2 separate regions of the Homo sapiens genome follow, and region 1 is linked to region 2. The links are contacts of gene promoters, found by promoter capture Hi-C in blood cells and fetal thymus (Javierre and others, 2016). All regions are on one chromosome and are shown on one strand. Each heading gives the region's core, a stretch centred on a gene start or on the middle of the fragment in contact. The rest is flanking DNA. Distances are from core to core; before and after follow the strand shown.

What was found. Contacts are between HindIII fragments. The CHiCAGO score rates a contact against its expected background, and 5 or more counts as called.
Region 1: a fragment that was not itself captured here is called in contact with the fragment with the promoter of SLC30A7 in region 2 in 2 of 17 cell types (total CD4 T cells and total CD8 T cells); the score reaches 9.4 in total CD4 T cells.

What each region holds. Positions count from the first base shown.
Region 1 is chr1:98,867,164-98,872,106 of GRCh38, forward strand. No RefSeq gene overlaps it. Among named protein-coding and RNA genes, the nearest start is that of PLPPR5-AS1, 130 kb to the right of the region's middle. RefSeq lists an enhancer at 4,410-4,529. The HindIII fragment of the contact is 1,497 bases long and covers 1,701-3,197 here.
Region 2 is chr1:100,893,205-100,898,088 of GRCh38, forward strand. SLC30A7 (solute carrier family 30 member 7) reads left to right here and starts at 2,886. Exons shown (of 11, transcript NM_133496.5): 1 at 2,886-3,138; 2 at 3,366-3,467. The coding sequence starts at 3,059. It overlaps EXTL2 (exostosin like glycosyltransferase 2), which reads right to left and starts at 1,638. Exons shown (of 5, transcript NM_001033025.3): 1 at 1,429-1,638. RefSeq lists enhancers at 970-1,693, 1,694-2,416, 2,311-2,380, 2,931-3,180, 3,231-3,390. The HindIII fragment of the contact is 2,158 bases long and covers 2,138-4,295 here.

The sequences.
Region 1 (4,943 bases), core at 1,199-3,698, 2.0 Mb before region 2:
ATAGCAACAGTCACCTTTACTCCAGTTCCTGACTAGTTTCTCATCTCCATCTGAGACCATATCAGCCTGGATTTCATTGTCCATATCATTATCAACATTTTGGTCAAAGCCGTTGAACAAATCTCTAGGAAGTTCCAAACTTTCCCACATTTTCCTCTCTTCTTCTGAGCCCTCCAAACTGTTCCAACCTCTTCCTGTTTGCCAGTTCCAAAGTCATTTCCATATTTTTGGATATCTTTACAGCAGTGCCCCACTCTATTCTATTAGTCTGTTTTCATGCTGCTGATAAAGACATACCTGAGACTGGGCAATTTATAAAGAAAAAGAGGTTTAATGGACTCACAGTTCCATGTGACTGGGGAGGTCTCATAATCATGGTGGGAGGCAAAAGGCACATTTTACATGGCAGCAAGCAAGACAGAATGAGAGCCAAGCAAAAGGGGAAGCCCTTTATAAAACCATCAGATCTTATGATACTTATTCACTGCCATGAGAACAGTATGGGGAAAACTGCCCCATGATTTAATTATCTCCCACTGGGTGCCTCCCACAACATGTAGGAATTATGGGAGCTACAAATCAAGATGAGATTTGGGTGGGGACACAGCCAAACCATGTCACATAATTTTTGTCCTTAATTTTTTTATGCCATGAGTCACATAAATTGATTTGCATATATCAAACCATGTATTTATAGTATTCAATAAATTATATGAGATAGTCACTATTATAAAATAGGCTTTGTGTTAGATGATTTTGCCCAACAAGAGGCTAATGTTCTGAGCTCATTTAGGGTAGGCTAGGCCAAGCTATAATGTTGGGTGGGTTGAGTGTACTAAAGTGCATTTTTGACTTCAATATTTTTAACTTACTATGAATTTATTGAGCTGTAACCCCATCATAAATCGAGGAGCATCTGCATATGTGTTCCAAATATTTTCTTGCAGGCTCTGGATTTCCTCTTCATTTTCTTAATAGTATATTTCAAAGAAGAAACTAAGGCCAAGGCAGGTAATTTGACTTGCTTAAAATTTCCCAGCTAAAAATATCAGATATGGAATTTGAACTCAATTCTTTTTGTTTTCCAAATCCTACCTCTTAGTCCTTATGCTTTATTACTAAAGAGTCATGAAATTATTTATTTATATGAAAATATTTTAATAAATGCCTCCTATTTTGTAGTTTCAGCACTAGAGTAGTGGTTCTATATAAATGAACACATGGTCCCCATCTACTTTAAGATCCCAAGCAAATATAAGGAAAAATAAAAAATCTAAAAAGATATGTTGAATGCTATCATAAAAGTAAATAGCACAGGTAAGGAAAACAATACTATCTGGAATTGTTGAGGAAATGGTCAAATAGAATTGCTGTTTGGTCAGTGTTCAAAAGATACAATGGGTATGGATAGCTGAAAAGAATAGTGTAAACATGGTAAAGCCAGAGAGGTGTGAAAGCAAGTGGTCTCTGCAGAATTGGGACTAAATATTAGATTGTTTGAGAAAGTGGCAAAAAGCACCATTTTAAATATTTTGTTCTTATAATATCACATGCTTTGATACATAGATGTTATCCTACAGATAAGTAACTATGAATATTATCTGATTATGATAGAAACATAGATTTTAAATAGTTATTTGGGCATATGTTTGAATGACTGGCAAAATGAGCATGAGACTTGTGGTCAGGAAACAATTGAAAGCTTATTGTAATAGAAGAAGAGAAATTAAACTGACAGGAATTAATCAGGGGAAAAGGAAGGGCTGAATTTTAATGAATAATCAATAGTTCAGGTATGGAATATATATCATCCTCTTCAAGTACAATGAATGGGCCAAATTGAACATAGTTTATTACATTACTAGCTATGAAAAACCCTGAAGGGAAAAAGTACCCAACACTTCACATATTAGGTAATTGGGAATCATTATGATTTTATAACATGGCTGGGCCATAGCATTGGCTCAAATGCCAACAAGCTGAAAAGAAGGCAAGAAGGTCTGTAATAAGGAACCAACACAGAAAACTCATATATGTATATAAAATCAGTGTATGACCCAGACGAAAGGCAAGGTCATTCTAATATTCTACAGTATTGCCAATAGCCAGGACTGTCTTAGGCATTTACATGAGCTGGGTGAAACTGCTGTAATCACTATTAAACGAGGGTGCTGCATGATATGTTGCTTGCCCCACACAGTCTGGTAGACTAATGTGTCCTAACACAGCTAGTCAAAGGTCTTAGAGAGCCAAAGTCTGCATATGTCTTGAGAAAAGTAACCAGAGTATCATTATTTTAGAATTGAAAAACAACTGATAGCATGTTGCACTGGATACATAGACCTAACTTGTGTATCCTCAAGTGGTTTATAAAAATCAATCCAACTGAAGACTATAATTTTCTCATACAATCCAGATTTCTGGATTCTCTTGAAATATTAGATGATCCGGTGGTGGAGGGTCTTAATTCTGGTATCACAACAATTGACAGGAGCTACACATAGCAACCTCCACCACTCTGTGTGGGTACATACCCCTCATTCATACAATGAAAAACATTTTCACAAAAAGACCAAGGTATCACTCATTATTGTTATCTTCCTGGTCTTGTAAGCATTTGCTTTCACAGTCTCTGATATAAGGTGCAAGTGAAATCTCAAGTGCCAGAGTAATTCATAGCTGGATCCAATAGAGAAGAAACAACAGGACTCCTAAAGGATGAGTAAAGAAGTTGGAATTGCTTATTTTGAAAGATATAATAAGAAGTTTTGAGAAATATCATCAGCATGAAGGCTGACACCTGGAAAAATCTCAACTGCATTAAATTAAGTAGGCTTTCTGATGAGGTCCTACCTAAGGGAAAATTACCAAGTGGCCAAATTTTACTTAGTGTCTAAAAAGCCGCCTTTCCCTTTGCCCCTTTCTTTCTCTTCAACATTAAGTTATACCATCATATTTTCTGGTCTTTATGTAAAATGTGCATATATTTGTATATAATATATGTATTATACATATACATTGATAAAGTATCTTCTAAAATTTTCTCAGTAGCTAAGAAGAATGGGATTCTATAATTATCTCTGGCTTTAATTATGGGGTACTGTCAAAGGCTTGGGTTTTAGATTCATTTATTCTTTCAACAAATATTTATTTAGTTCCTAAGGATCTAGTCATGGTCAAGGTTCTTTTTTTCTTGAAGCTTAAATTCTAGTAAGGGAACATATGTAATAAATAATAATAATACAAGTAAATATTTCTGCATATTGATAAGAGTTATGAAGAATAAATGAGTTGTTGGGTTGGAGAGTGACCAATGGCTGTAAACAGTGGCCACTTTCTGTGTAGCAAATTTCCCAGTGGGGATATTGTGGTTGGTTTTAAAAATTACTTAAAACGGAGTGCCACCCAGCCACCTAGCTAGGACTTTACTGTTTGACTATTTCATATTCACTATATGTAAGGGTCATCCCAGCAGTTATAATCTGCCATGTGTTGCTATACAAAGATTTACAGGATTCAGCATATTTAACTACCTAATTGGAAGCACTCCTTGCATCTAATGAGCATTTTTTTCTTGACACTTTTTTCCCCACTTATCAGATAAGCCAGCATTTTCTTAAATGTCTAAGGTGTGCTAAGGCCGAAAGGTTATTTTTAAAGCAATGAGTCTATAAATTACTAAGTTTTGTGGTGGAGGAAATAGAAGAAAAAATATATTTTGGAAGGGAATGAAGTATGGTAATCACTCCAAGCAGGCTTAATTATGGAGAAACTAAGAGGTGGGCATGTGGGAGGAGACTTGAAACTTAATTTAGTCTCGTCCATAATTTTGTCTGAGTTCAGCTGTCAATACACTTACGATATCCTGGCTTTGAGGCGCTCTGTCTCTAGGATTAATTTTTTTCCTTCCAGAGAAGACATAATGTCATTAGAGTAAATCATGACTTCTCATATAATTGCTCATCTGCTGATAAGGAAGATAGGTCCACCTGATTCCAGCCTGAGCCAATCGTGCCTTCCCTATCCACTGAGTTGCTGAGTTAAGCCTGATTCTGAAGCTGCATACAGGTGTTATCAGTGCCCTTTGTTCTTGTAATGTCTCAAGAAAGATGACAATAGAAATCAAGAGAGATCACTAGATATAGCAGCATAGAGAAAGAGAAAGCATTATTTTAGCTTGTGCACAAGGAAGTCGGCACCACAAAAGGAAAAGGGCAGGCTGCTCCTGGAGGGTAGTATGTGGATTTGTTTTATGCGGACTTTCTATAGGGAAGGATTTCATCAGGGCATGTATAGGAGGGTTTTTTCTAGCACTTGTGCAATGGCTCTACATGTTTCTTCATACACCACATGTAATATTACCGTTTTAAATCTCCACTACTGGCTGTGTGACTTTTAGTATTAAAATGAGGGGGAGGGGCAATTATAAGTTAAAGTTTAAGGCTACCTGCACATGTGGAGCCGAAGGGAAGTCCCTATCCCCCTAAAGCAGGAACTTGTGGTTAATAGCTTCTTGGGTTTTTTGTTGCTGATTGGCTGGAAGTTAGGTAAGCTACAGTTTGAGTAAAGGGCTTTTGATCTTTTCTCTAAACCACATGAAAACAGGAAATGAGCCTGTCTGCCTATCTGGCCTACTCAGTGAGAATGGATTCAGTGATAGATTAACAATGTCTGCCATAAAATCAGAAATAAAAACAAAACCACGAGGGCTTGGGACATAGAGTTGTGGCAAAATGAACTAAGAATGATTTATCAAAATGCTACCCTTTGGAGCTTCTTGACTTATGTATAAGGCAGGAATAGTAGAGCTAAGCAGGTTCCCAGACCAATTTCCCAGGATACTTGGTAGATCTTGGAATAAGCCTTTCATGTTGAAAAACAAATAGGACTGAGAATTGGCTGCCCTGGGACGGGAAGGGCCCTGTACTCAAATTTGTCTCACT
Region 2 (4,884 bases), core at 1,636-4,135:
AACCGATTTAATCTTGTAACATACAAAGGAATTAAGAATTCTGATTGGTGACTTGCAAGATACCATTTGAACAGAGTTGAAGAATCATTTTTGATTTTCCAATACGACATATTGAAAGGGCAAAAGGAATGGCTTAGTATTTATGGAAAGACTTACTGAGTGACAGCTGTCCCTTCACACTGCTCCAAGGGCATCCCTTGTGTAAATTTTAAACATCACAGAGTTCTAAAAGACGAGACTGATTTGCCTGTCACAACCCCCCCCTTTCTTCATAACTACTCTTTTCCATAAAATTCCTCCAGGGAAGGAACTTTTTATTTATCTGGCTTTGTATCCCCAGCACCCAGCACAGAGCCTGGCACATAGAAGACATTCATTAAATGACTGTTGAATGAATGAAAGAAACAAATTTGATATGACAACAAAGATAGGTTAACATATATGGGACAAACATTATTTGACAATGACAAAAGAAGTGAGGCACAGCCTGACGTTTTTCACTCATAGAACTTTTCCTGATTTAAATAGTGTCCACCTACACTTTTATATTGCAAATAAAATGCCTTTAGTTTTAAATTTGGTCATTATGCTCTTTAAGACTGAAAGATGTGAAGACATCACCATCACTTTTTGAAAGGAGAAGGTCCTCATGGGAATACCTATCATATATCTTGGGGGATGGGGAGTGGGGGAATTTGGGAGTCTCTGGAAACTGATGTAACTGAAATTAAACTTCAATTTCTCGTACCCATTTCAAAACTATTTGAAAAGAGGTAATGTAGGTTTCTCCATAAACCACTTAAGCGATTTCTGATTTGTAGCAATACAGTATAAAATATAGGACTTATTTTCAAAGGCAGAATACAAAAAAGTTCAAAATGCAGCTGACCTTGATGAGTTAGGATTATGCTGGAAATCAGTTGCTGAAATTTAATTATTTCTATTACTTCTCCCGCCTTCTCCCAAGTTAAATCATATTGAATAAGGGCGTTTTGGAGAAAAATCCAATTACCATAGAATTATTTATCTTTAAACTATCTAGTTTGCACCCAATTAATTTTTCCTCAGCAGTGCAGTAGAGTAAAATTCAAGGTCTACTGCTAATACAAAAACTTCCTTCCAAAAAAAGAGTAAATGCTACTAATTTTAAATATTTCTACACTTAAATTAAAAGAATGAAATATACGCTAACAAAGGCAAATACAAAATACTCTTCCCAGAACTTACTTCTGAAACCTAGCTGTTTTTACACAGCAGTTTTAATTAACATTTTTCAAAATTGTAGAATAAGTACATATTTTCAAAAATAAAACCACCGAATACTCCATACACACACACAAAGTTCTCAGAACGAGAGCAAAACATGCATATATCCTCACTACAAAAAGAAAAATACTAATACTGGAGCATTTTGCTGTGTCTCCTTACCTCGAGTGCAGTAGATTGCAGTAGGGCCAGCCGATTTATTTCCCTGCAGCTTAGTTATCATAAAACGGAAGGGGCGTCTCGTTTGCTCATTTTTGTTTTTTTTTCTAAACCAAGTAGCGTGCATCTATCCTTCTCCATTAGCTGGATTAACAACCTGGAAAAAGTGCCGCCCGCAAAGTGAGCGCCTGGAGCAAGGGACAGTCCCCGAGTGGCCGCCCCTCCCTTTCGGTGACGCTCCACTTCCTGTCGGCCTAAAAGGCATTCCCAGGAAGCTCGGTTTTGTAGTTTCCAGCCCACCTCCGAAAGCCAATCCTTTCCTCCATTTCTTCTCCAAGGTAACAACTTTTAAACATTCACGTGACGGACCACCTTCCCTCAGCCAAACAACTTCCCTGAAAGGCGCCCGAAGGAGCCTTCCCATCCACCGCGGGTGCCCAGGAAAGGCCTGTGGGGCTCTCCTCCCCGCGCTCCACACGCCCTCGCATCCCACCGAGGGGCCAGCTTCTGCCTGCACGTTGCTGAAACTGGCCTGGAGGTTCTGACAAGAATTAGAGCGGCGGCCGTTGCCCCGGGGATGACCTGGAAGCGAAAGAGACCGGCACGAATTCTAGAGTTTCGGGGTTTCCGCGGGTTGAGATTGTACGGGAAACAATGCATTAACCAAACCTAAAAATCAAACAAACACGTCTGGTAGAACCTACCATTAAAAAGCTTCTTTCCTATACTACGTTTAACAGCCTTTATTTTGAAAGACATTGATTGATGCCAGGCATGGTGGCGCACGCCTGAGGTCTCAGCTACTCCGGAGGCTGAGGAGGATCACTTGCGTCCGGGAGTTCCAGGCTGTAGTGAGCCTCATTGTGCTCCAGCCTAGGTGACAGGGCGAGACCTTGTCTCTTAAAAAAATAAAGAAAGAAAAACATTGATCGCCTCCTGCGTGGCAGTCCAGAAGGGTCAAGCGCTGTTTTCGGGGTGGCGTGGAATGGATTCCTAAGATTTGGGCGCCCATAGAGTTAACGCAGCAAAACGATCACTTGCGTTTCCTGCGGACTGGCGGCAATAGAACACGTGGCTGCCTAGACTCTTAATCACTGATATCTACCACACCAGGATTTAATGCCAGTTGGGAGGAAATGGCGAAAGGGCAGGCGCTGGAGCCCATGCATCCGGGAACACTGGTGGTAGGCGGTCGGGTGGGCGTGAGCGGGCTCTCCATCTCCCAGCCCAGTCTGCAGGTCGCCACCTCAGGATTTTCTTCCTGAGTCCGGGTGGCAGGATTCCATCCCAGGTCAGCCCCTCACACCCCCTGGTAGTTGCCACCTCCTGGCGTCCCTCCAACAGCTCCAGCACCTTTCTCATCCCGCCCCCGCCGCAAGCCACGCCCTCCGCCGCGCAGGCCCCGCCCGCGACCGGCCTCCCTCCTTTCCTGTCCCAGGACGCGTTGCGCGGCCCGGGCCGGAAGTAAGCGAATTCCCGGGTGTGTGTCTGTGTCTGTCTGTGTCTCGCAGCGGCGCGCGGCCCCGGACAAGCGCTGGGGATTCCCGTTTGAGGCGTCACTACTGTCACTGCCATCACCCCACGGAGCCACTTCTAGAGGGGAGTAGACCCGGCCCTTCGCCGGGCAGAGAAGATGTTGCCCCTGTCCATCAAAGACGATGAATACAAACCACCCAAGTTCAATTTGTTCGGCAAGATCTCGGGCTGGTTTAGGTGCGGGGTGCTGTGTTTGCGGGGAGGGGGTGTCCGGCAGAAAGGGAGAAGGCCCAGACCTCAGGATGGCCCGAGGTCCAGTGAGGGAGAGTCAAAAACTCCCCGTCAACCCCTAGCTGTGAAGAAAGGAGCATGTGAACTGGGAGGGTCTTGAAGAGGGTACCCAGCCTCGGGGTCCCGGCACCTCCTTAACTCTCCCGGCTCTTTTCCACGTGTATCATTCCCAGGTCTATACTGTCCGACAAGACTTCCCGGAACCTGTTTTTCTTCCTGTGCCTGAACCTCTCTTTCGCTTTTGTGGAACTACTCTACGGCATCTGGAGCAACTGGTAACCAAAGGGGAAAATGGTTTGGGCGGAAGCTGGGTGTGAGGGAGACGAAGCACTGTTTGCTTAATGCCACGTAGCTCCTCACTAGGAGGTTCAGGTCCTACCTTTGTTACCTACCTCTGCTGCTGAGTTGCTTTCTCATACCCACACCAATCTGGTAGGGCTACAGTTCTTGAGTAAGATCTGGGCCTATCCTGTGCAACCTCTCTTGTCACGCTCCCCTCCAGTTCCATCAGACAAGACTGACAAGCCCCTCCTTATTTTAGCAGATGGGCAGAATCTTTCATTTCTAATTGTAGGCCTTAGGTTTACCCACTTTGTTGGAATTGGGAGAAACTTGTTTGCTGCCTCTCTCGGGGGGGAGTGGCATTTGGATTTCACCCTTAAGATTCTGAGAGAGTATATCTGAGATGTTCTACTTAGTTTGTTATTGGGGCTTGGAATGGGAGGTTTTATAAAGTGATATCGGGAGGAATATGTGTCATTCTCTTCTCTCTTTAATGCCGAAACTGTCTCATGATTTTCCTGTAGTCTTAACTGCGATGTAAAAATCCCATATAGTTTCTAGAAACAACATTTCTTGGGTTTTGGTGGCACCTTTGAGGGTTTTTGTTTTTTTTGAAACATCCTTAGGAGGAGGAAAATCTAGTGTGTAACTCTGTGGCAGTGAAGTTACTATTATTCAGGTATTTGCTGTTGAGTAACTTAAGGTCTTATGAAGTTGTTCTGCTAACAAGACTGTCACACTCCTAGGTGTACTAATTCTGTCTTTAGATCCCATACTCCTTCAAAAATCTGATGAAAGCCAATACTCAGAATTGTACATAAAGCTTCAGGATGTTGTTGGGTTCCCTGTACTAAATCTTGGACTCTAGATTAAGAACCTGTTTTCTATTTATTAAATAGACTTAGTCTCTGTTGTTTAAGACCCATTTTCAGAGAAAATCGCTGTCCTTGATCTTCTGTTGAGATCAAACATTGACAGGTAATATCACCAGGTTTTGTGACATGTATACTTTTATATAATGCTTGGGCTTCTTTCAATTCAACCGTCAATTCAGTTCTATAAAAAATACTCAATAACCAGCAGATTATGAAGGTTATTGGTTTAGTCAACAGTTGGGTATAAAGGCATATTGGCACAATGAAATCTTAATATATGTAATAACCATTTTGAATCCTTTGGGAATCAGATGTGTTAATTTGAAGGATACCCCATCATAGATTAATTTTTTAATCCCATAGTATTAACACACTTTAATATACTGTAGATGTTGAAAGCACTTGTACTTGAATAATCATACTTTATCATAAATATATAATATTTACAGTATATTTTACATTTTTCTCTTCCTAAATTATGCCAAATTAATTTTGGGATATGTGCTGATTGTATCAGGAGTGTATCATAGCTTAT